4 separate regions of the Homo sapiens genome follow, and all the other regions are linked to region 1. Evidence: promoter capture Hi-C in 16 types of primary human blood cells and fetal thymus (Javierre and others, 2016). All regions are on one chromosome and are shown on one strand. Each heading gives the region's core, a stretch centred on a gene start or on the middle of the fragment in contact. The rest is flanking DNA. Distances are from core to core; before and after follow the strand shown. Region 1 holds the start of LPIN3 (lipin 3). Region 2 overlaps TOP1 (DNA topoisomerase I). Region 3 overlaps TOP1 (DNA topoisomerase I). Region 4 overlaps ZHX3 (zinc fingers and homeoboxes 3).

What was found. Contacts are between HindIII fragments. The CHiCAGO score rates a contact against its expected background, and 5 or more counts as called.
Region 2: a contact is called between a fragment that was not itself captured here and the fragment with the promoter of LPIN3 in region 1, in 13 of 17 cell types (activated CD4 T cells, non-activated CD4 T cells, naive CD8 T cells and 10 more). The highest score is 16.7, in activated CD4 T cells.
Region 3: a fragment that was not itself captured here is called in contact with the fragment with the promoter of LPIN3 in region 1 in 8 of 17 cell types (activated CD4 T cells, non-activated CD4 T cells, naive CD4 T cells and 5 more); the score reaches 12.9 in activated CD4 T cells.
Region 4: a fragment that was not itself captured here is called in contact with the fragment with the promoter of LPIN3 in region 1 in 15 of 17 cell types (activated CD4 T cells, total B cells, non-activated CD4 T cells and 12 more); the score reaches 9.4 in activated CD4 T cells.

Annotation. Positions count from the first base shown.
Region 1 is chr20:41,337,768-41,343,960 of GRCh38, reverse strand. It overlaps LPIN3 (lipin 3), which reads right to left and starts at 3,140. Exons shown (of 20, transcript NM_022896.3): 1 at 2,959-3,140. RefSeq lists a silencer at 3,159-3,318 and an enhancer at 3,479-3,528. The HindIII fragment of the contact is 12,951 bases long and covers 1-6,193 here.
Region 2 is chr20:41,108,772-41,115,447 of GRCh38, reverse strand. TOP1 (DNA topoisomerase I) reads right to left here. Exons shown (of 21, transcript NM_003286.4): 14 at 2,523-2,666; 15 at 1,293-1,478; 16 at 9-77. All of the region lies in intron 4 of PLCG1-AS1 (PLCG1 antisense RNA 1), which reads left to right. Among named protein-coding and RNA genes, the nearest start is that of PLCG1, 25 kb to the left of the region's middle. RefSeq lists a silencer at 3,972-4,051. The HindIII fragment of the contact is 1,460 bases long and covers 4,616-6,075 here.
Region 3 is chr20:41,090,362-41,097,033 of GRCh38, reverse strand. It overlaps TOP1 (DNA topoisomerase I), which reads right to left. Exons shown (of 21, transcript NM_003286.4): 9 at 4,447-4,562. Among named protein-coding and RNA genes, the nearest start is that of PLCG1, 44 kb to the left of the region's middle. The HindIII fragment of the contact is 4,648 bases long and covers 1,504-6,151 here.
Region 4 is chr20:41,185,637-41,192,251 of GRCh38, reverse strand. All of the region lies in intron 3 of ZHX3 (zinc fingers and homeoboxes 3), which reads left to right. Among named protein-coding and RNA genes, the nearest start is that of MIR6871, 20 kb to the right of the region's middle. The HindIII fragment of the contact is 1,846 bases long and covers 940-2,785 here.

The DNA.
Region 1 (6,193 bases), core at 1,891-4,390:
CCTCCTGAGTAGCTGGGACTACAGGCATGTACCACCATAACTGGCTAACTTTTAAATTTCTTTTGTAGAGACAGGGTCTCACTATGTTGCCCACGTTGGTCTCAAACTCCTGGACTCAAGTGATCCTCCCACCTTGGCCTACCAAAGTGCCGGGACTACAGGCGTGAGCCATTGCACCTGGCCTAGCATCTGCATTTTAACAGGATCCCGAGGTGATTCCTGCAGCCTTTCATGTGTTTGAAAGGAACTGCTTTTGTGTTCCCAGTCCACAGTCTACTCTTGGAAGAGCCTAAACGACAAGACCCCCACCTCCACAGCATTTCTCAGATAATGCCACATCCTGCCCATCCTAGGACATCGGATGAAGCAGTGGATTCTTTCAGTCTATGTCAGAGCGTCACAAACATAAGACACAATTCAAATTGCCAAAGTGAAAATGGGATGAAATGAAACTCCCTGGACCCCTAAGATGTCACTCAAATCAAGTTTATCTGCAAGGCACCTGCCATGTGCTAGATGGGACATTTCCACTTTGGTTTCTCCCTACCTAATGCCAAACTCTGAATACAGGTCTGGGGAGACAGAGTGGTGACAGACACTTGGTGGGCAGACCTCTAAACCACTGTGCCCAGGAAAAGCAGAGAGGACTCCAGAGGCTTCCAGGAATTAAGGAGCAAGCATGGGGAGGGGCAGAGCCGGGGTTGGGGCAAAGGTCCATCCAGCTGGAGGCCCAAGCCTGAGCTTTCTGCCCTATTAAGCCCTAGTGCAGTTTCTCAGCTTCAGCATTACTGTCCTTTGGGGCCAGATAATTCTTTGCTGGGGGGTGGGTGGGTGCACTGTAGGATATTCAGCAGCATCCCTGGTCTCTGCCCATTAGATGCCAGTAGCACTTCATCCCCCGCAGCTCCAGGTTGTGACAGCCAAATTGTCTTCAGACATTTTTAAATGTCTCCTGGGGGACAAAATTGCCCCCAGCTGAGAACCACGATCTAGTAGAAAGGGCCGAATAGCAGAGATGGCACCCGGGGTCCTACTCGGATCCAGCCCTGGAGTATTCTCAGGCAAGTAACTGGCTGGCCTCAGTTTCCCCTTCTGTGAACCAAGGCCTCAGTTTTTTAGACCCATCTCCCTCAGATCTAATGTCACGGGAGTCCAGAATTCTCTCCTCTCTCTGTTCCCCCCACTTCACCAATGGATGTCCCCCACATCTGCCTGCTCGGCATTTTGGGGGCCTTCTGTGAGCCCCCCACATCTGCCTGCTCAGCATTTTGGGGGCTTCCAGTGAGCCCCCCCACATCTGCCTGCTCAGCATTTTGGGGGCCTTCTGTGAGCCCGCCTCTGTCTTCACCTATCCCTTAGGCACCCCCTTTTCCCAGGACCCAGCTCTACCTCCTTGTTCTTTTCCAGACAGAGGAGAGCTCTGCTTGGCTCCCCTCTATCACCCTCCACCCACAAACTAACATGTCTAAAATCAGCCACTTCACTCCTCACACCTTCCCAGGAAGCCGAATACCCCTTAGGACTAGTCACTACCCCTCTCTCCCTCCCTAGCCCTCTGAATCTTCTCCCCCAATTTCCTGCTCATCCAGCCCCTCCTTTCTCCAGCTGTCCTAGGTTAAGACTTTATAACCAGATGCCCAGATCACGGGTGGCCACAGGACATTAGGAGAAAAGGCACCAGATTATCTGGGTGCTGATCCCCACTCCGCCATTTGCTAGCTGTGACCATGGGCAAGTGACTTCATCTCTCTGACCCTCAGTCTCAGCCTCCAAAATGGGAATAACATCAGGCACGTGTGAGTAACTAATGACTTTGTGTAAAGCCCTGGAATGCAATAAAAACCTGTATGTACACCTATCAGCAGCAGCATCATGACAGCCCCACTCATGCAGGCTGGTCCTGTGGGCACTGCAGGTCATACTCTGATGAACTGCCCCTGCCAGCAGTTGAGAGTTTGGACTTCTTTTATTTATTTATTTTTTTGAGATGGAGTCTTGCCCTGTCACCCAGACTGGAGTGCGGTGGCATGATTTTGGCTCACTGCAAGCTCCGCCTGCTGGGTTCAAGCAATTCTCCTGCCTCAGCCTCCCGAGTAGCTGGGACTACAGGCGTGTGCCACCACACCCGGCTAATTTTTTGTATTTTTAGTGGAGACGGGGTTTCACCGTGTTAGGATGGTCTCGATCTCCTGACCTCATGATCCACCCGCCTCAGTCTCCAAAGTGCTGGGATTACAGGCGTGAGCCACCGCGCCCAGCGGAGTTTGGACTTCTTAACTTGGCACTCAAGGCCATGCACAATGGTGGCACCACTATTTGCAAAACGAGCATGTGCACTCCACGTAGGCCTCACACCCCACCTTGGGGATGTTCACAGGCCTTCCAGGCTAGACTACAACTCTAGCACAGGGAAGCCAGAGCAAGCTGCCCTAGGACTAGGCTCTCAGCCCTCGGGGCTCCCAGGTTTGGGTGGATGAAGGGTGTGGCTCTCCACCGAGGACCAGAGGGAGCAGGAGAGTAAGCACTCCTAGTGCCCCAGTAGAGAGAAAGCGCCACCCCAGCCCCCAGCAGCTACAGCATCTGATCTGCCCAGTCTCAGGGCAAGCAGGGCAAGGGCCAGTCACTGTTTTGCAACTGAGGACACTGGGTACCAGAGAAAGTGGCTGTCCTCCTCAAGGTCACACAGTCAGGCTGGGGTAAAGCTGGGCCAGCCTCCCCTGGGAGGTTTCGACGTCTCCTCTCCAGACTCTACGTTCTGGGTGTCCAGGGGGCCTGCAGCCGCTGGGCCAGGGAAAAAGGGACAAAATGAGGCCAGTCCCTCCACCCCTGCGTCCCCATCTTACAGCTAGGGGTGGACCCAGGCCCGCGGACAGGAAGGAAGGAATGTAGGATGGCAGGACAGATGGGCAGGGCGGGAGGGGAGAGGGTCATCTCTTCTCCCCCCGAGTTGGGCCCTACCTGGGGAGCTGCCCACTGGAGCTCCTGGACTCAGAGCCGCCGCCTCTACCTACGTGCACAGGCTCCACAGGTGAGTGTCTTCGGCCCTCAGTCACTTGGCGCTTCCGGGTCCTCTAAGACAGGGTGAGAGCACGGCTCCACTCCTTCTACGATCCTAGTGCGGCCTCCACAGGCCCCAATCTGCCCAGGCTCCACTCCCTGGAAAGACCCCGCCCCTGCTCCGATCCCCGCCCAGGGCGCCCTTTGGCCTCGGAGGCGGGGGCGGGGCCAGACTTCATGCCCCGCCCACCAGACCCCGCCCCAAGTCCCTGTGCCACCGCCTGCCCCACCTCCAGAAAAGTGTGGATTTCGGAACGGGGCGGACCTAGCTCCTCCCAGATTTGCTTCCAGCTTGCTGTGTGATCTTGGGTGAATTCCTTCCTCAATTTGATCCCATTTCCTGTTTTGTCAAGGGGGAAAGCCGCCTTGCAGGATTTTAGAGATGACATGAAATGACTTTGCGCGGCTCCTGGCGCTCAAACGTCCCCTCCTGGGGGCAGCTTTTCCTGAACCCACCCGTATCTCCCAGACTGGACAGGCCCCTCGCGTCATCTGTTCGCATAGCCCACAGTTGTAATTTCATATTTGCTTGAATGACTACTTGATTAATGTATATCTCTTCATTTAAATTTGAACTCTGAGAGCAGGTCACGTACATCCTTACACTCCAGCGCTTATCAGTACCTCGCCTGACAAACAGCAGGCGCTCCATAAATGCCCGCACCTTCATTCCATCCCTGGGACGTTCTGGTCGAGCGGCAGCGGGCTCAATACTGACACTGGCCAGCAGGGGGCAGGCGGTGATCAGCCTTCTGGCCCAGCCGCGCTCCCTCCCTGTCTGCAGGCACTGCGGGAGGGGACAGGTGAGCCCAGGTGCGCCGAGGCACGCGGAAGGTGCATTTACTCTCGTGCCTTGGGCAAGGCCCGGGCCGGGAACGGCTTTTTCCTCTTGGATCTGTGGCTCGCGGCTTTCCTGGACCAAAGACCTTTCCGACGCCCTATGGCCCCTGCAAAGAAGCTGCCCTGAGAAGGGCCTGGAGATGAAGTAATTTGTTCTAAAAGAGAGAGGGCACCGAGGAAAGGCTTGGCGGAGCAGCAACGGCGACGAGCCAGGCTTAGAAACGACTGGGCGGTGAGGAGGAGAGGTAGCTGCCATTATTCTGACTCAGGGTGACAGAACCTGTTTGGAAGTGACTGGCCTCAGTTGTCCTCATTTTGGCAGAAGTCATTTAGTATCAGTCCTGATCCCAGGTAGTGTCTGGCTGCTATCTCAGAAGAGCCCTGTTGGGAGCAGAGCTATGTCAAGGTGGCCAGGAGGGCAGCGTCATACATACCATTTTCTGTAACATCAGGAAATCCCTGAAGGGAGCCCGAGAAGGAAGGAAGGAGAGGTCACAGGTTGGGGCTACAGATGCCGAAATCAATTTACCTCTTTGAGCCTCAATTTCATCGGCAAAGGTGGTGATAAAAGCTACCTTGCAGGATTCTATTGTGAGGATTTACAGGATGAATTAAATAAGTGGTTCTCAACCTTGACTGTGTGTTAGAATCACTGTGCCCTAGACGAATACTGATGCCCCGGATACTGGGAGTTTAAAAACCTCTCCAGTTGGTTGTAATGTACAAACAAGGCTGAGAACTGCTGATCCAAATTAAATGCAGAGCACAGCGCCAGGGCACACACTAGGCATTCAGGAATGTTTATCACATATTTATTTTTATTTAAAAAATTTTTGTGTCACACATTTTTAAAGATGGAGCACAAATTGTTTTCATTGTTCATTGTTAGAGGAAAAAAAGTTGATATAAAGGTTGTTGCAGAAATTGCATTTGCGGCTGGGGTGAGGTGGCTTACGCCTGCAATCCCAGCACTTTGGGAGGCAGAGGTGGGCGGATCGTCTGAGGTCAGGAGTTGGAGACCAGCCTGGCCAACACGGTGAAACCCCATCTCTGTTTTTTTGTTTTTGTTTTTGTTTTGAGATGAAGTCTCGCTCTGTCACTCAGGCTGGAGTGCAGTGGCACCATCTCTGCTCACTGCAAGCTCCACTTTCCGGGTTCACGCCATTCTCCTGCCTCAGCCTCCTGAGTAGCTGGGACTACAGGGGCCCATCCCCATGCCCAGCTAATTTTTTGTATTTTTAGTAGAGACAGGGTTTCACTGTGTTAGCCAGGATGGTCTCGATCTCCTGACCTCGTGATCCACCCACCTCAGCCTCCCAAAGTGTTGGGATTACAGGCGTTAGCCACTGCGCTCGGTCCCCCGTCTCTATTAAAAATACAAAAAAAAAAAAAATTAGCCAGGCATGGTGGTGCACAGCTGTAGTCTCAGCTACTCAGGAGGCTGAGGCAGGAGAATCACTTGAACCGAGGAGGTGGAGGTTGCAGTGAGCTGAGATGGCGCCTCTGTACTCCACCCTGGGTGACAGAGCAAGACATTGTCTCAAAAAAAAAAAAAAAGAAAAAGAAAAATTGCATTTCTGACAGGCTCGTTTCTGGAACTCTCAATCATCTGGGATTTGGTGATGAGGGTAGGAGAAGAAAGGCAGATAGAACAGCCTCTGCTAGTATGACTTGTTCTAACACTGAATGGAACTGAATAAGGCAGAGACTGTCCCACTCTAGCTTGTGGTTGACATCACCATCTCCAGGGCTTTCTCTGAGGGTGCAAGCAGCATGGACACTTGTGTTTGCCCATTTCTGGGGTTGAAGGTGGAGGCCATTTTTTCCTCTGCTTGGGTATACTCATCGGATGAGCCTATATCACTGGCAGCTGTTTGTTTCTTCATTAATCCAAGAATGCAGGTGGTACTTCCTTCTTTACAGAATTTGGTAGCTTATGTGTTTTATTGTTTTTTTGTTTTGTTTTAGACAGGGTCTGGCTCTGTCACCCAGGATGGAGTGCAGTGGCACAATCACAGCTCACTGCACCCTTGACCTCCTGGGCTCAAGCAATTCTCCTACTTCAGCCTCTCGAGGAGCTGGGACCACAGGCATGCATGATCACACCTGGCTTTTTTTTTTTTTTTTTTTTTTTTTTAGAGACAGAGTCTCGCTCTGTTGCCCAGGCTGGAGTGTAGTGGCACAATCTCGGCTTATTGCAACCTCCGCCTCCCAGGTTCAAGCGATTATTTGCTTCAGCCTCATGAGTAGCTGGGATTACAGGTGCCTGCCACCATGCCTGGCTAATTTTTGTATT
Region 2 (6,676 bases), core at 4,096-6,595, 230 kb after region 1:
CTACTCACATTGAGTCTATCAAAAAGATCATCCTCGGGCTGCTTGTTCTCCATAAATAGTTGTAGGTTCTTAAAAACCTAAAAGATATAAGTGAATCCTAATTATTACTCTTGAAAAAAATCCTAACTTTAGAAATAACCCCAAACTTAAAGAAACTTGCAAAGAAAAAGGCACAAGGAACACGCATACATCCGTCACCGAGATTCACTGTTAACATTTTACCCCATTCATCATTTGCACAGTGTGCATGTATGCTCACTCTCTCCATGTGTATATTTACAGATATATATACATAATTGTTTGTTCTGAGCCATTTATAAGCACTTACTTATAATATGGTCCTAAAGTACATTTATAAGTACTTACTTATAATATGGTCCTAAAGTACATTTATAAGTACTTACTTATAATATGGTCCTAAACATTTCAGTGTGTATGTTCTAAAAATAGATATTCCCTTACATTTACACAGTATCAGCTTCAAAAATTTACATTGATACATACTGTTATCTAATCTGTCCAGAGTACTTCCACAGCCAGCAAAACCTGATTACTGATTATGGTGTCCTTATGAGAAGAGGTGTCTTTATAAGAAGAGGACTGCTGGTGGGCTGGATTATTAGGATCCTGCACACTGTAAGTCTCTGGTTCAAGCCCAATACTATGGAAAAGATTAGGTTGGGACTACAGAGCTATAGTACCCTCTTCAGTGATGGGCTCAGAGATCTGGGGACTAACATTAACCTTTCACTCAGTCAGGAGTTGGAGAAAGGCTGAGCAAAGATGAAAAGTGACAAATGTACCACATGACCAGGGGATACTAAGATATAGTTAAATCATATGCTGAGTTTGCTCTAAGGGCCTATTCTACAGCATGCTCCATTGAATACTGCTATAGGAGAAGGCCACTCCTTACCAGGAAGGTAGCACAGGGCGGAACAGTGACTAAAAGGAGGTACACAAGATATCAAATAATACCTCTCCCCTCTTTCAAGTCATTTATTTTTATTTATTTTAATATGAGAGGCAAGGTCTCACTATTTTGCCCAGGCTGGAGTACAGTGGCTATTCACAGGTGTGATCACAGCACACTACAGCCTCAAACTTTTGGTCTCCAGTGATCCTCCTGTCTCAGCCTTCTGAATAGCTGGGTCTACAGGCATGTGCCATGTTGCCTGTCTCAAGTCACTTTTGCTGGTGCCCAGCAAAGTGCAAAGCACACAAAAAAGCAGTCAACCCATGCTTGTTGAATAATGGAAAACAAGTCAGACAGTACAGGTACATTAACTTACTCGTTTCTCAACAGGGACCTTGTTATAGTATCTGATGGAGTCCTTCCCGAGGAAGTCAAACTCTACCACATATTCCTGACCATCCAACTCTGGGTGTAGATTGATGTGCTCCACACGAAGTGAGCAGCAGCCCACAGTGTCCGCTGTTTCTCCTTCCTCCTTTTCATTGCCTGCTCTCAGAGCAAGCTGCCCAGGAAAGAAAGAAAAGATGAGCATGAATGGAAGAGACATGATCCTTACACAATTTCGTTCTGTGTTTTTTTTTTTTTTTTTTTTGAGACAGTCTCGCTCTGTCGCCAGGCTAGAGTGCAATGGCGCAATTTTGGCTCACTGCAAGCTCCGTCTCCCGGGTTCATGCCATTCTCCTGCCTCAGCCTCCGAAGTAGCTGGGACTACAGGCGCCCGCCACCACGCCAATTTTTATTTTTTTTTTTTTTTTTGTATTTTTAGTAGAGATGGGGTTTCACCACATTGGCCAGGATGGTCTCTTGACCTCGTGTTCCACCTGCCTTGGCCTCCCAAAGTGCTGGGATTACAGGCGTGAGCCACTGCGCCCAGCCTTTTGACCCTTATGCAATTTCTAGGCATCCAAAACAGAAGCCTCCCAATTCTGTTTGAAGCCACAGCATCAGTCAGCATGGCCTGGGAACTCTGGATTCTGCAGTGTTACTTCCTCCCCCACTCACTATGAAATCTATAGGGATGTTAAATATTCATGCTCCTTTTCTTTCTATTCTGTCCTCTGAAATAGGGATGGAGAAAAGGAAAAAAAAAATTAAATAAGGCAGCAAATGAGGGAGTGCTGCTACTCTGGGCAATCAAACTCAAAAAGCTAGTGTGAATTTTGAGACAATTCAGAACTTATGTTAAAATACAAGACTGGGGGAAAAACATGAACTTTTTTTTCTTCTCGTGAGTACCAAGAAATTGATCTCCTCTAGAGCGTGGTCTTTAAAACTATATAATGGTGATACCTGCATGGTTTATTTAAACAATTTTATAAGTTATAACCAACTTTCTAAAGGAATGAAATAGAGTTAAAAAAAGATCAGAATCTACTGCTCACAGTAAGGCTAAGCATTGTTTTGTGCAACTTTTGATTCAGTTTTACATACAAATATATGTATGTTGAGTTGTGATATACAGTATGTGGCACAGGGCCTGGGGCAGAGCAGAAACTCCCTTTGTTAAGCTCAACACTAGACAATGCCGATGGGAAGATGCTCTCACCTTGTCGATGAAGTACAGGGCTACAGCTCTCTGCCGGACTTTCATCTCTTTGGACTTCCAGTCTTCTCGATACTGGTTCCGGATCTTGTCCACACATTTTTTCAGCCGCCGAGCAGTCTCGTATTTCTGCCAGTCCTTCTCACCCTGTAAAGACCCAAACCCAAATGTAGATTACTTTGGGACAGTGTAGTAAAGACAGACTTTGAATATAGCCAGGCAAGGTGGCGCAAGCCTATAATCCCAGCTAGCTAATAGGGAGGCTAAGACACAAGAATTGCTTGAACGCAGGAGGCAGAGGTTGCAGTGAGCCAAGATCACGCCACTGCACTCCACCATGGGTGACAAAGCAAGACTTTGAACAAAAGAGCAGGAACTTGACCTTAAGCAAACGTAAAAAAGAATAGTACTGAAGAGAGAGTTTGGCACATTTAACCTGTTAAGAATGCACATTGTCCCATCTCACTGCCAAGCACAACTGACTTCTAAGGCTTTCCCAGAAGAAAGTTTCTAGCTCTAATTCTCTAAAATGTTTATGTTCCTGGGAAAAACCCACATGGGATGTCCCAAAAACTAACTTCTGTCAACACAAAGCACATAATCACCCCCATTCCCACATCAATTTCACAGCCTTGCTGCCAACTCTGTGACCCAATAGCAGTTTTCTACCAGGACTGAATTCCATTAAATCTAAGTGAATTCCATTAAATTACAGTGTGGTGGAGCTGTCAAAGAAGCAGAACCAAAGACTACAACATGTAATTACTAAGGACACAATGACTTCCAGGAACAGCCATAATTATTCACCATTTTCTAACTTCTGCATTTAAAAGCATTTCTTGATGAGATTGAGAGAAACTATGTTTCTGGGAAGCCTTTAAAAAAATAAGAGCTTTTGGTGGAAGGGTTAAAAGTTGATTCTAAACCCAATGAAGGGTTACTAAAACCATGTGAAAACTGAATCTAAACAATAGTGAAGAAGACTTCTGCTACCAAGCTGAATGAAAATAGACTCACAAGCAAGAGCCAATTATGACAAGTGAGAAGGGGAAAAAAATTCAAGAAATCCAGAAGCAGGGAATTACATAAAACAGCATAAAACAGACTAGATGACATAAACATAGAGAAGGAATTTAAGAATCCAAGAATCTCTGCTCTTAATTTCCCCACCCGCAACAAAGGAAAGTGGTAGTGATTTCTGCCCACACATGCCTGGTTCCTGACTATGACGTGGACCCGTGGTCCTTGAGACATAAGACCTGTGGTGAAGATAACCAGCCTTTCAGCCTGGGCAACAGAGCATGACCCTATCAAAAAAAAAAAAAAGGGGGCGGGGGGTGGGGTGGGGGCGCAACCAGCCTTCTGGGTGTGCAGAAGCATGAGATACCTAGAGCAAGAATGTCTTCCACTTCTCAATCCTAAAAGTACTCAGAAATTAAAAGCTTACACAGTTAAGCTAAGGAGTCATCTGCACTCTCACATCATGTGTACCAGTGTTATGCACTTGTTTGGCTACAAGAGTTTCAGTAACTACCTGCTATCATGGGTGGGTGATTTAGTAGTTGGTGACACAGAAAAAATACCTAAGTCTTAGTACATTTTGACATTTAACAGGGTGAATAAGAAAAGGTGAGATATAAGCTGTCCTCATGCACAAGTCAGTAGTAAATCTCCATGACAACTGTTCTTACACATGCACGGAAAAATTGGACACAAAAGGCTCACCTTCAACAGTAGAGTACCCAACTCTGGAGTGGCCTCTTTCCCCTCACTCTAGTGCACATGGACTACCAAAGCCTGTCTCAAAGTCCCCTAGGGTTACGTTTGCTCAGTTCCTTAGTCACACCACTGGAATGTAAGGTAGGAGTCAGGTAAACGAGATTTAGAAAAACCCAACCCGCACGTCATTCACAGGATACTACCAGACCAACTTTTCTTCACAGGCTGGCTGGGCTTCTGCACCAAGGATCTAGGATTCTCTCAAATAAGCTGAGATGGAGGTGGAGGCAGAAGCCACCCCGCTTAGATCCAGCAGGAGATGGCTGGCCTCCAAGAAGTATGCTTGTCCCTGCAGTGTTCAATGCCCTGAACAAGCTTTCTTGACTACTTTTAGAAAATAAACTATCCACCTAGGTCTTCCAGGCAAGGTCTCACAAAACCATCTCAAGAAGACAAGGAATCCACTGGAGAAGGCTGCCTTTGACCACCTCTCCTCTTTCCCTAATTCAATCACACTTCAGTAATGGGTAAAAATCTAATTTAACTGATTGTAGATGACATTCTTTGGATGACTTTTTAAAACTAGTAGGCCCACTATATTGTCTCTCTAATATAGCTGCTATCCATTCAGCAGAGTGGTTGGGTGGAATCAGGATCTGGATTCAAGATTACAAAGTTGGGGGTGAGAAGGCAAATTGGATTCTGTTTTCTAGTAACTTTCTCAGACGTTTGTAATGGGGAAGAGGACATTTGCCAGTATTCTTACATGACTATTTCCCTTCTCAGTCAATTTCCACCAAGCAACCACTGATCCTTCAATCTGATTACTATCATCATGGATAAATTTTGCCTAGTCTAGATTATATAAATAGAATCATACAATATAGACTCCTCTGTCTGCCTTTTTAACTTTTTTTTTTCCCTCTGAGACAGCGTCTCGCTCTGTCACCAGGCTGGAGTACAGTGATGCAATCTCGGCTCAGTGCAACCTCTACCCCTCAGGTTCAAGCGATTCCCATGTCTCAGCCTCCTGAATAGCTGAGATTACAGGTGTGCGCCACCCTCGGCTAATTTTTGTATTTTTTTGTAGAGACGGTGTTTCGCCATGTTGGCCAGGCTGGTCTCGAACTCCTGACCTGAAGTGATCCACCCGCCTTGGCCTCCCAGAGTGCTTGGATTACAGGCATGCACCAACCGCACCTGGCCCTTAACCATGTTTTTAAGATTCATCCATGTTGTTGAATACATAAGTAGTTCCCTTCTTAACTGCTGATAAATATAGTATATTCTATGACTATACCATAATGTGTTATCTATTCTGGGATGTTTCCAGTTTTGCACTCTTATGAATAGAGCACTGCTATGAACATTCTTGTACAAGTTTTTTCATGGATAAATGTTTTTATTTCACTTGAGGTAAAAATACCTAGAACTGGAATTCGTATCTCCCTGTGGTTAAATCTTCACTCCACTGATAATTAGTGATGTCGAGCACTCTTTCATTTGCTTATTTATTGACCATTCCTGTATCTTCTTTTGTATAGTATATGTTCAAGTCTTTTGCTCTTTTTATTATGCGGATGGGATGTCTGTTTTTTTATTATGGAGCTACAGGAATTCTTTGTATAGTCTGGATATAAGCCCTTTCAGATAAACATGTTGCAAATATTTTCTTTTAGTCTGTAAATTCTGTATTTATTTTAGCAGTGTCTTTTGTTGAACATAAATTTTTAATTTTAATGAAGTCCATTTAGTCAATTGTTTCTCTTGTTGGTGTTTTTCTGTCCTAAGGAATCTACTCTAAGGTCATATTCAACCATGATATCACCTACAAGCTTTAATATTTTAGTCTTCACACTTAGGTCTATGTTAGTCTTACTAATAAATAGATTTAAAACGTTTTGAATTTTATACCAAGATGCCAGGCTCAGAATATATATATATTTTTAATGAGCTTGTGTCTTATTTTCTCTAATAGAACTCACCAAAATGAGAGCTTCCCAAGATGAATATTGTAAAGATACTTTCCTTCACATTTAGCCCTTTAATCCCTAGGTGGTTACATATAAAAGGTTGTAAGCACATACATTTTTGGAACCCCACAGAATTCTAGACTCTAAAGAGAAAAAAGGCAGAAGTGTGTATTTGGCACTGAGAGTATTTTAACAGGACTAAACGCAATACGATGTCAACATTGATCCTAAAGTTTGCTGTACTGCATTTGAAAGAAAAATCATGATGATAAATTCTGTTTGTAAGGTTAAGGCTGGTTTGAAAAAACCTGAATTTTACTAAGGGCTACTTTCCCTGGGTTGTGAGAGCAGGTAATGCTTCCAAACTTGGCAGTGGATTGTACTTAGCAGTGAGTACCCATAAGCAGCCTTTTTGTAAACTCCTAGATTATGCAGGATAAGAAACTCCTGGGTTATCTGGAATCA
Region 3 (6,672 bases), core at 2,578-5,077, 250 kb after region 1:
TCTCTTTAGCATATATTTACCTGGGTCATTCTCTGGAGACTATGCCAGTTAATTGTTCCCAGGTGCCTGCTCAGGACAGGGATGACCTGGGGGAGGCCCAGTCACTCTTCCTTTTCCTTTCAGCAAGCAGGGTCCTTTACACCTCTTCAATGGTTTTTAAAAATCAAATCCTCAGAGGGACTCCTGCCACTGCTAAGCTAAGCAGCCTCTGTTCAAGAAGGGGAGGAAGGGATAGGGCAGGGAGTGGAAGAAAGGAATTGTGGGGAAAAGAAATAGGCATCTTTCTTCTTCAAAGTTAGGTGGGTGGAATATGAATAAAAAAATATATATCCATACTAGGCAAGCCCAGATTTCCCATATGAAAAGCCTAATAAGACCTTCTTCTAGAACTTTGCTATTCAACAAGTGGTTCACAGACCAGCAGCATTGGCATCATGTGGGAGTTTAGAAATGCAGAATCCCAGGCCCCCTCCTAGACCTACTGAATCCTATACAGAAATTGCATTTTTAACAAGACTTGGATGCACACTAGAGTTTGCGACACACTGCTCTGGAACATGGGTACCATGATGCTGCCTCTTTCAGGGAACCAGGATGCATCCACAGCACAAGGGATGACTGGGGTTCCTGGTGTATCCAATTGTTTATGTAAAAGCTGTCTAAAGGGGCTGGGAGCAGTGGCTCATGCCTGTAATCCCAGCACTTTGGGAGGCTGAGGCAGGCAGATCACTTGAGGTCAGGAGTTCCAGATCAGCCTGGCCAACATGGCGAAAACCCATCTCTACTAAAAATATAAAAAATTAGCCGGGCGTGGTGGTGGGAGCCTGTAACTCCAGCTACTCAGGAGGCTGAGGCATGAGAATCGCTTGAACCCAGGAGGCAGGGGTTGCAGTGAGCCAAGATCACGCCACTGCACTTCAGCCTGGGCAACAGACTGAGACTGTCTCAAATAAACAAAAAGCTGTCTAAAGGGACTCAGATGTTTTCACAATGAAAGCTGCTAACTGGTAAAGAAAATCTGAATAGGGCCTATGGGTTTTATATACCTGATTTAGTTAATAAAGCAATGAAAGAAAAGTACTTGGGAATTTAATCCACTTTTCAAACAAATGCTTTTGACAGTACTCTTAGTGCCAATTTCCATTCTTTCTTAAAAATCCAACTTTACAACATCACCTCGAACCAATCCATGCTATACTAAGAGCATTTGGCTATACTTAAAATGAGGTTAACTATAATTCCACCACCTTACTATTACACAGGTATTAATAATTCACCAAGGCTGCCCACATTCTTTATAGAAAACTAAAATTTAACCAGAAATCCATTTATTTCAAAACTCAGAAGACATCTTATCTCATAATGATATGCAATCTGACTTTGCAGGGGTGTAGAGAACTGTAGCACAATATTGAAACAGTTATAATAGAAAGAACCCACTTTGGACGCCATTAACTTAAAAGGCCAACAGGTGGCGCAGCTGCCCCCATCAACCCCCAAGCTTCTGCTTTGGAAGAAAGACACTTCGGGGAAGATAGGCTGTGTATTAAAAGATTCCCTGAACTTCTTTAGAAAACTGTAACATGTTTCCAATATAAAGGAAAACATTAAGTCATTAGGAATAAAATAAATGAAATAAAATGGCAAGAAAAAAATGTAAACTGTTAACACCATTTAAAAAAAAATGTGGCTGAGCATGGTGGTTCACATCTGTAATCCCAGCACTTTAGGAGGCGGTGCAAGGATCACTTCAGGTCAGGAGTTCCAGACCAGCTTGACCAACATGGTAAAACCCTGTCTCTATTAAAAATACAAAACTTAGGTGTGGTGGCACGTGCCTGTTAATTTCAGCTACTTGGGAGGCTGAGGCATGAGAATCGTTTGAACCTTGGAGGTGGAGGCTGCAGTGAGCCAAGATTGTGCCACTGCACTCCAGCCTGGGTGACAGAGTGTGACTCTGTCTCAAATAAATAAATATAAAAATAAATTTAAAAAAAATGAGATTTTGGGCTGTTTTACTGAATTCTGTCCTAATAGAGGGAGAAGCAACTGTGACTCCTCCTATTTTAGATGAGCTGTCAAAAGATGAAATGATGGCTCCCTGCATCAGAGTAGTGGGAGGATGACTGGAAGGTTCCTGGCAATGTTAACACTTTGTGGAAAAGGCTGAGCTCCAGGAAAAGGAAACTGCTGAATCAAAGCTGTAAACTGAAGGTCCTCAGAGAAGGCAGTAATTCACTGCTTCAGCTAGCCCATGCCCCACCTCCCTGGCAAGTTCTAAAGGAGTCTAAGAATTCTCCTCCCCAGAGAGTAGGCAGCACTTACTGTATCAGTTTGAAGTAAAGTCAAATATGACTTCTTGACTTACTGCAGAGTAAGAGTTCACACAATCAAAGAGAAGAAATCCCAGCAGAGGACCAGCTGAGAAAATGCTGGAGCCCTAAAGCAGGATCCTGTAAAGGAGGACTGGGCAAGAATGGGAGGAAAGGACTATGGCAACCTGTGAACTAGACCAGGCCTCTGCTTCCTATCTTGAAAAGGAAGAGAAACCACAGGACTAGGGAATCTAGCTTTCCCTCCCATCACTTTGAACCTCAAAGTGAGGCTTTACCAGCTGAGCATCCTAAAGCTCTTGGTAAGTCCAGACCAGGCCTACGGAATACCTACGCTTTGAGATGGTGCTCTTCAAGGTTCTAGGCCCTTTCTCTTAATTAGGAGTTTTGGCTTTGAGTTATAGTTAAGAGTCTCCAGGAATGACCAGCGTGAGGGCTGAAAGAACTGTCTTAGGCTCTCTGGTCAACAGGTCAAAATGTTTACATAACATAAGCATTTGCCTCTGAGATTATGGAGTCCTGTTAGGCTGCAAACTCCCCAAGATCAGGGTCTAAGTCAGTAGTACTATCCACTGCTGGGTCTTGGTGTCTGACCACAAATACATTCAATAAATATGTTTTATTTATTTATTTATTATTTTATTTTTTGAGACAGGGTCTCACTCTGTCACACAGGCTGGAGGGGAGTGGCACGATCTAGGCTCACTGCAATCTCTGCCTCCTGGACTCAAGCAATCCTCCCACCTTAGCCTCCCGAGTAGCTGGGACTACAGGCGTGCACCACCACACTTGGCTAATAAATATGGCATTTTAAAAAACAAATTTCAGCTTGCCAAGTTTGGCACTTTCTTCAGTTGCAGACCCAGCCCTTTAGTGTAAACTACTACCTAGGCCTACAAGCATTGGTGGACCTAAGGCCACTACTGGTGGGAAGAGAGATGCACCAGAATGCCTGAGTGTTCACCACTGATGCTTTTCAGCAGTTATCCTGCCCAGTGTTTCTCAAAGTTTGGTCAGCAGACCACTTGGTTCAGAAGTACTCAATCCCACCCCAGAACTTTTTCTTTTCAGTGCGGGCGGTGGGATGGGTGAGAAGAAAACAGTGGGGGGCTGAGGGTGGGAAAAATGGTGGAGAAATGGGGTGGTGAAATAACAGTGGCCAAAAGACGGTGGTAAGACAAGTGGAGGTGGAAGAGGAATGCTGGGGAAAGGAGAAGGGGGACTGTCAGGAAAGGGGACAGAAGAGGGAAGGATGGTTGGGAAAGGGGAAAGAAGAAGAGGGACGGTGGGGAAAGGGAAAAGAAGCCCACCCCACAACTGTTAAATGGGCTCAGATCCACTTTGGTGAGTCATAAGCACATAAGGGTATGAGGAACAATGCTCTAACCATTTCTGGATAAAACTCATGGAATGAAGAAAATCAGTTATTACCATCTACATACTGCTACACTGCCAACAGGAGGCATGTCAAAGGCTACCCTCAAATCCTTCAAACCCAAGGATACAAATACCAACGACAGATAAGGGACAATTCTGAGGGTTCTAAGAGACCCAGGCAGGGCATTTCTTTAAAGCAGCTCATCAGACTTGATTGCACATATATCAAAGGCATAGTGTTATGCTACACAGAATAGGTGACAGATGCCTACCAGCCCTATCTAGAGATGGATGGCAGACTATTAATCCTCGACCATATACTAATACTGTTTCTAGTGATGAGCAGCTTGTCCGATTGCATTGTTATATTGCTAACATAAAATACTACCATTCAAGTGAGGCTTTTCTAATAACTCTTGCGAAGAGTTGCTCCCTAGAAATGAAGTTCAGATCAAAACCTTCAGCTTGTGGACCACACACTGTTAGCCATGTTGACAAACCTTTTTTGGACTATGTAGGGAAGACATGAATAGCCCCTTTTCCATGGCACTTTTTCAGCAGCAAATGAGCCTTTAAGAGTTAACACCTGATGCCCCTTCCTCAAAATTGCATGGCAATAAAACAAAATGAAATAAAAAGGATTATCTATTACATAGGATCCTTCCTTGTTTTCTATCCCTAAATAGAAGCAGATTTCTTTTCCTGGCCAAGAATCAAGAACCTTGAAACAACTCACCATCATAATAAAACTTGACATTCTCTGGAAGAGGCTCATATGGTGGGGCAAATACTGGACCTTTATGTTCTAGGAATTTCCACTTGATGCCTTCAGGATAGCGCTCTTCTTCCCACCTTTAAAAGACAAAGCACAGCCTCATTTAGTGATCGCCTTGTCTAACATGGGGATCATCACTGATTAAATGCCAAATAATTATCCGCTCAACTGATTAGTGCTCTGGAATGACTTCTGGGCCTCACATTCAAGGCCTGGATCAAAAGAACCAGTGTCTCTCATTTTGAAAAAGCCAACGCTCACAAGTAAGATGAAATACTGTGGTGAATAAAGGAAAATACATTTCAACAGCTCAGTTTAAGAATACTGGACAGAAGAGATCAACAATGAAGGAGCTCAGTAACAAGTGAGGGACTTGAAAATGTAAACAGTTGTTTTACCACAATGGCATACATGACAGAGGGATTGTTTACATTGTTTGTAAGGAAAAGGCCTCCTCAGAGTGGTGACGTCAGATGGAAGGTAGAGGAGAAAACAACCCTATGAGAAAGGACATAAAGGAAGACGACTAGGAAATGATAGCTTAACTGGGGCATGTTGAGTTTAAGGTACTTACGCATTACCTGGAACTATCTAGCAAACACTGATAAGTGAATCTAAAGCTCAGTGGGAACAACTTTTTGAAAATGTATTTTTAAAATGGTCGAACATAAGAAAAAAATGAGTAATACAATAAACACCATATACGCCTGTAATCCCAGCACTTTGGGAGGCCGAGGCGGGCAGATCACGAGGTCAGGAGGTCGTGATCCAGGTCAGGAGCCTGGGCAATGTGGTGAAACTCCGTCTCTACTAAAAATACAAAAATTAGCTGGGCATGGTGGCGCGCACCTGTAGTCCCAGCTGCTCAGGAGGCTGAGGCACGAGAATTGCTTGAACCCAGGAGGCAGAGGTTGCAGTGAGCCAAGATTGTGCCACTGCACTCCAGCCTGGGCAACAGAGTGAGACTCCATCTCAAAAAAAAAAAAAAAAAAAAAAGGTTAATAATTTGCTACATTTCCTATTTTGGCCGAACCATTTTCAAAGTTGGTTGCAGATTTGATACTTCACCACTAAATATTTCAGCAAGTATCTCTATAAAAATAATATTCTTCCACATAACCACAAAACTATTATCACATCTAACAAAATAATCTCCTAGTATAATTCTAATTCCCAGTCCATATTAAAAACTTCCCTATTTTATCTAAATTTATTTTATAGACCAGGATCCAACTCAGGCTCACAAATTGCAACTGGCTATGCCTCAAGTTTCTTTTACTCGAATAGATAACTAACTTACTACCCTCATATTTACTTTCCAAGTACAATATTTTATTTATTATTTTATTATCAATCATTCAGCCATGGAACAAGTCCAATATTTTAAACAAAGTTCAGAAACATCAAATAAAAATTACATGTATCAAACCATATTGTAACAATGGTATTACTATAAAACCAAAGTCAACATATATGGTCAAATGATTTACAACAAGATGCTTAAGACCATTCAATGGAGAAAGAACAGTTTTTTCAACAATAGTGTTGGCAAAATAATCAAACTGGGTCTTTACATTATACACAAAAATTAATTCAAAATGGATCAAAGACCTAAATATAAGAGCAAAAATATAAAACTCTTAGAAGACAACATAGGGGAAAAGCTTCACAATATTGGATTTGACAGTGATTTATTGGATATGACACGTAAAACACAGGTAACAAAAAGAATAAATGAATTGCAGCTGGGCAGAGTACCTCACACCTGTAATCTCCGCACTTTGGGAGGCTGGGGTGGGCGGATCACTTGAGGACAAGAGTTCGAGACCAGCCTGGCCAACATGGCGAGACCCCCCCGTCTCTACTAAAAATACAAAAATTATCCAGGCATGGGGGCATACGCCTGTAATCCCAGCTACTCAGGAGACTGAGACACAAGAATCGTTTGAACCTGGGAGGTGAAGGTTGCAGTGAGCCGAGATCACGTGACTGCACTCCAGCCTGGGCAACAGAGAGACACTCTGTCTCAATAAATAAATAAACTGAACTTCACTGAACTTAAAAACTTCTGTGCATCAAAGGACACTTCAAGAGAGTGAAAGACAACTCACAGAATAGGAGAAAATATTTGTAAATCATGTATCTGATAAAGGGTTAACATACAAAATATATAAACAGCTCCTACAT
Region 4 (6,615 bases), core at 613-3,112, 150 kb after region 1:
CCATTGGCACTTGAATACTCCTCTTGGGTACCTGAGGTTGGGGCTTACCCACTTGGCCACTACTACCTGTATGTACCACTTGTGGGCCTGCAGAATGGGCCGCCCAGCCTGTTGCAGCCACTGCCAACACAAGCACATATCACTTGGGACCCAGAGGGTCATTTCAACACTGTCACTGCCATCTCCCATGCCACGCCAGCTGCCCAGGGGCCTGAGAACCTGATCACATGCCTGGGAACTGCTGCCACTACTGACATCTGAGTAAGCCACCCGAAAGCCCAAGAATCAGCCTGCTTGAACCCACTAACACTGGTGCCATTGTATGCTCCTCTGAGGTCCAAAGACAGGCATGCTCTGTCCACTGCTGCTACCACTGGTGCCTGGAGAATGGCCCACCTGGCATTCCAGTCCTTAGCAAAATTTTACCATAGCTTCCACTAGTAACTACTCAGCCACTGAGGAAATCACAGATACCACTGATGCTATTTATAGCCAAAGAAATCATACAGAGACTACACTACTGCACATACCAAGAATCAAAGCCAAAGTGTCCTACCCAAACAACACCATAGATACGTCTAGGAAAAAGTCCTCCCTTACAAATGCAAATGCAAAAAATTAGAAGAAACAACTGTTACACCAGATGTGCAGATATCAACATAAGGACACAAACATGAAAAAGCAAGGAAATATGACACCTCAGAAGGAACACAATAAATTTCCTGCAATAGATTCCAATAAAAAATAAACTCACAAAATCCCAGAAAAAGAATTCAAATTATTGAGTGTAAGGAAGCTCAATGAGATGTAAGAGAATGTGAAAAAGAAAAACAATTTGGGAAATGAATGATAATTTTATCAAAGAGATATATGTCATAAAAAAGCAAATGCTGGAATAGAAGACTTCATGAAACAAAGTACAGAATACAATTGAAAGCTTCAACAATATATTAGATCAAGCAGAAAAAAAAGTCTTAGAGCTAGAACACAGGTCTTTTGACATAACTCAGAAATAAAAAAGAATAAAAAATGAGCAAAGCCTTTGTGACATATGGGACACAATAAAGCAACTACATATCTAAATTATTGGGATCCCAGAGGGTTAAGAGAAAATGAAAGAGTGAGAAAACCTATTTAATGAAATAATATTAATAGGTGAAAACTTCCCAAATCTCACAAGAGATTTAGACATCTAGATATAGGAGGCCCTGATAGCCTCTAAATGGATACAGTGCAAAAAGGTATTCTCTATGGCACATTATAGTCAGACTCTCTAAAGTCAGATAATTCTAAGGACAGCAAGAGAAATGTGTGTAAGCAACTATAAAGGAAGCCCCATCAGACTAACAGTGGATTTCAGCAGAAACCTTACAGATCAGGAGAAAATGAGATAATATGTTGACAGGGCTGAAGGGGAAAAAAAGTAAGCCAAGGATACTATGTCTAGCAAAATTATCCTTCATAAATGAAGGAGAAATAAAGTATTTCCAAGACAGGCAAAAGCTGAGAGAATTGATCACCACTAGACTGGCCCTACAAGAAATGCTCACAAGAGTCCTAAACATGGAAGTGAAAACATGACATTTAACACTATGTAAAACACACAAAAGTATAAAACTCACTGGCAAAGCAAACACACAGATGAGGAAAAGACTCAAATGCTACCACTACAGAAAACTACCAGAGTACAATGCCAAACAAAAGAAAAAGGAAAAAAATATATAAAACAACTAGAAAACAACAGTATAACAATAACAAAACCTCACATATCAATAATCCTTGGCTGGGCATGGTGGCTCATGCCTGTAATTCCAGCACTTTGGGAGGTCAAGGTGGGCAGATCACCTGAGGTCAGGAGCTTGAGACCAGCCTGGCCAACATGGTGAAACCCTATCTCTAAAAATACAAAATTAGCCAGGCATGGTGGCACATGCCTGTAATCCTAGCTACTCAGGAGGCTGAGGCAGGAGAATTGCTTGAACCCAGGAAGCAGAGGTTGCAGTGAGCCGAGATTGCACCCCTGTGCTTCCACCTGGGCTACAAGATTGCACCCCTGTGCTTCCGCCTGGGCTACAAGAGCGAAACTCTGTCTCAAAAAATTATAATGCAAGGATGGTTTAACATACACCATTCAGTTAATGCAATACATCACATCAACAGAATGAAGAGCAAAAATCGTGTGGTCATCTCAATAAACAGAAAAAGCATTTGATAAAATTCAACATTGCTTCATGATAAAAAAAAAACACTCAGAAAACTGCATAGAAAGAAGATAGTAAAGGCCATAAATAAACCCACAGCTAGCATCATACTGAATGGGGAAAAGCTGAAAATCCTTCTTCTGAAAACTGGAACATGACAAGGATGCCCACTTTCACCGCTCCTATTCAGCATAGTACTGGAAGTTCTAGCCAGAGAAATCAGGCAAGAGAAAGAAAAGGCATCCAAATTGGAAAAGAGAAAAATTGTCCCTTTTTGCAGATGACATGATCTGATACTTAGAAAAACCAAAAATGCTCCACCAAAACTCTTAAAGCTGGTAAGCAAATTCAGCACAGTGGCAGGATATAAAGTTAACGTACAAAAATCAGAGTTTCTATACACCAATAATAAAATAGCTGAAAAAGAAATCAAGAAGGTAATCTGATTTACAATAGCTACCAAAAATAAAAAAAGATACTTACGAATAAATTTAATCAAGGAAGTGAAAGATCTCTGCAAGGAAAACTGTAAAACACTGATGAAAGAAACTGAAGAGGACACAAATGGAAAGACATCCCAAGCTTATGGATTGGAAAAATTAATATTAAAATGGCCACACTGTCCAAAGCAATCTACAGATTCAATGCAATTGCTATCAAAATACCAATGTGATTTTTTCACAGGAGTAGAAAAAAACCCTAAAATTTGTACAGAACCACGAAAGAGCTAAAATAGTCAAAGCAATCCTAAGCAAAAAGAACAAAGCTGTAGGCATCACATTACCTGACTTCAAAATATATCACAAGGCTATAGTAACCAAAACAACATGGTATTGGTATAAAAATAGACCCACAGACCAAAGGAAAAGAAAATAGAACCCAGAAATAAAGCCACATATTTACAGCCAGCTGATTTTCAACAAAGGTGCCAAGAACATGCAATGAGGAAAGGACACCCTCTTCAATAAATGATGCTGGGAAAATTAGATATCCATAAGCAAAAGAATAAAACTGGACCTGTATCTCTCACCATATACAAAAGTTAAGACAGATTAAAGATTTAAATATAAGACCTTGAATTATGAAACTACTAGAAGAAAACAGTGCAGAACACTTCAGGACATTGGTCTGAGCAACGATTTTATGGCTAAGACCTCAAAAACACAACTAAAACAAAAATAGACAAAGGGAACTATATTAAAAATCTTCTGCATAGCAAAGGAAATAATCAGCACAGAGACAATATGTTGAGTGGGAGAAAATATTTGCAAAACTATTCATCCAACAAAGGACTAATATCTAGAATATATAAGGAATTCAACAAAAAATCATATTAAAAAGTGGGCAAAAGGTGGGGCACAGAGGCTAACACCTATAATCCCAACACTTTGGGAGGCCGAGGTAGGTGGATCACTTGAGCCCAGGAGTTTGAGACCAGCCTGGGCAACATGGTGAAACCCCATCTCTACAAAAATTAGTCGGGTGTAGTGGCACATACCTGTAGTCCCAGCTACTCAGGAGGCTGAAGTGGGGGGATCAGTTGAGCCCAGGAGGTTGAGACTGCAGTGAGCCGTGGTTGTGCCACTGCATTCCAGAGCCTGGGTTACAGAGCGAGATCCTGTGTCCAAAAAAAAAAAAAAAAGGTGGGGGTGGGTGGGGGGACAAAAGACATGAATAGACAATTCACAAAAGAAGACATACACATGGCCAATAGGTATATTAAAGAACACTCAACATCACAAATCAAAAGGGAAATACAAATCAAAACCACAATGAGATGTCATTTTATCCCAGTTAGAATGGCTATTATTAAAAAGACAAAAAATAATAGAACTGGAGGTCATTATGTTCATTGGAATATCCCAGGCACAGAAAGACAAATACACGTTCTTACTCATATGTGGCAGCTAAAAATCTTGATTTCATGGAGATAGAGAATAGAATGATAGATAGCACAGGTTGGGAAGGGTGTGAGAGTAGAAGGGGGAAATGAAAAGAGGTTGGTAAATGGGTATAGACTTATAGTAGATAGAAGAAACAAAGTCTAATGTTAAATAGCAGACTAGTGTGACTATGGTTAGCAACAACATATTGTATATTTCAAAGTAGCTAGAATAGAGGACTTGAAATATTACCAACACACAGAAATAATAAATACTAAGGTGATGGATACCCTAAATATGCTGACTTGATCATTACACATTCTGTGCATGTAAAAAATATTCACATGTACCCCATAAATATGTAAACTATCAATTATAAAAGAATAATCCATCCTAAAGTTTATATAGAATCTCAGGGGACCCCAAATAGACAAACTGAGAAAAAACAAAGTTGAAGGAGTCACACTCACTTGATTTCAAATTGTACTACAAAGCTACAGTAATCAAAACAGTGTGGTACTGGCATAAGGAGAGACATACAAAACCAATGGAATAAAATAAAAAGCCCAGAAATCCCCACGTAATGGTCAATTGATTTTTGACAGGGGTGCAAAGACCATTCAATGGGAAAAGACAGTCTTTTCACCAAAAGGTGCTGGGAAACTGGATATATACATGCAAAAGTATGAAATTATACTCTTACCTTGTACTATATACAGAAATTTACTTAAAATAGATCAAAGAACTAAAAAAAGCTAAAGCTATAAAATACTTAGAAGAAAATAGAATCCTTCCAGATTTTTGATTAGGCAATTATTACTTTTTTTTTTTTTTTTTTTTTTTTGAGACAGGTTCTTGCTCTGTTGCTGGAGTGCAGTGGTACAATCAAACCTACTGCAGTTTCAAACTCCTGGGCTCAAGCAGTCATCCCACCTTAGCCTCCTGAGTAGCTAGGATTACAAGTGTGCACACCTGGCTAATTTTATTATTACTATTTTGTGTGTGGGTGTGTGTGTAGACAGGATCTTGCTATGTTGCCCAGGCTGGTCTTGAACTCCTGACTTCAAGCATTCCTCCCCAACCTCCCAAAGTGCTGAGATTACAGGTGCAAGCCACCCCATCTGGCCAGGCAATGATTTCTTATGTATGACACTCAAAGCATAGGCAACAAAAGAAAATAATAATTTGGATTACGTCAAAATCTAAAACTTTTGTGTTTCAAAGAACACTGTTAAAAGAATGAAAGAACCCACAGAATGGGAGAAAAGAGCTGAAAATCATACATCTGATAAGAGATTTATATTCAGAATATGTATAGAACTCCTAAAACTGAACAACAAAACCAATTCAAAAACGGGCAAATGATTTAGACATTTCTCATAGGAAAATATACAAATGGCCAATAAGTACATGAAAAGACGAACCTTTGGCATTAGGGAAATGCAAATCAAAACCACAGCGTGATACCACTTCACACTTAAGATGGCTGTTACAAACACACACCCAGAGAAAACAACGTGTTGGGAGGATGTGGAGAAACTGGATCCCTTGTGCATTGCTGGTGGGAATATAAAATGGTACAGCTCCTTGGGAAACGACTTTGTGGTTCTTCAAGAAGGTGAATATAGAATATTACCATGTGATCCAGCAATTTCACTCCTAGGTATACGCCCCAAGGACTGAAAACAGGGACTCACATATGCATGTACATCAGTGTTCTTAGTGGCATTATTCACAGTAGCCAAAAGGCGGAAACAAGTACTTACCACCAGATAAATAAAGAAAATGTGTGTGTACATACAGTAAGATATTATTCAGCCAAAAAAGGAATAAAATTCTGATATATCCTACAACATGGATGGACCTTGAAAACATTTTTGCTAAGTGAGATGTCAAGACACAAAAAGACAAATATTGTACCATTCAACTTACATGAGGTATCTAAAATAGGCAAAGGCATAGCGATAGAAGGTAAAATAGAGGTTACCAGGGCCTAAGGGGTGGAGGACATGGGGAGTTGTTGTTTAATGGATATATAATTTCTGTTTAGGATGATGAAAAATTGCTGGAAATAGAGTGATGGTTTTATAACATTGTAAATGTACTTAATGCTACTGAATTGTACACTTAAAATTGTCGTAATGGTGAATTTTATGTTATTTATATTTTACCATGGTTTTTTTCTTAAAGTCAACATGGAAATGTGATGAGTGGATTTGAATGACAAGCATTGGCTCCCCTCAGCTACTAAATCCAACACAAAGTGACATGTTGCTGTCCTTTGTGGGACAGAGCAGGAATGGCAGGGGGTGGCCATTGCCATTGGCATTGTTCTCTTCTGTCTGAGACAGGTAACTGTGGGTACAGGAAGGGCCAATCTGTTTATCTGTACCTGGTTTCTCATGGCTTTCTCAGCCAGCTGCAATTAAGGACCATTTCTTTATGAATCACAGATGATGAACCTCTCTGATATCAGCCTTACTTTGACTTTGATGTTAGGGTTGCAAGTTACAAATGAAGTGAAGACATCA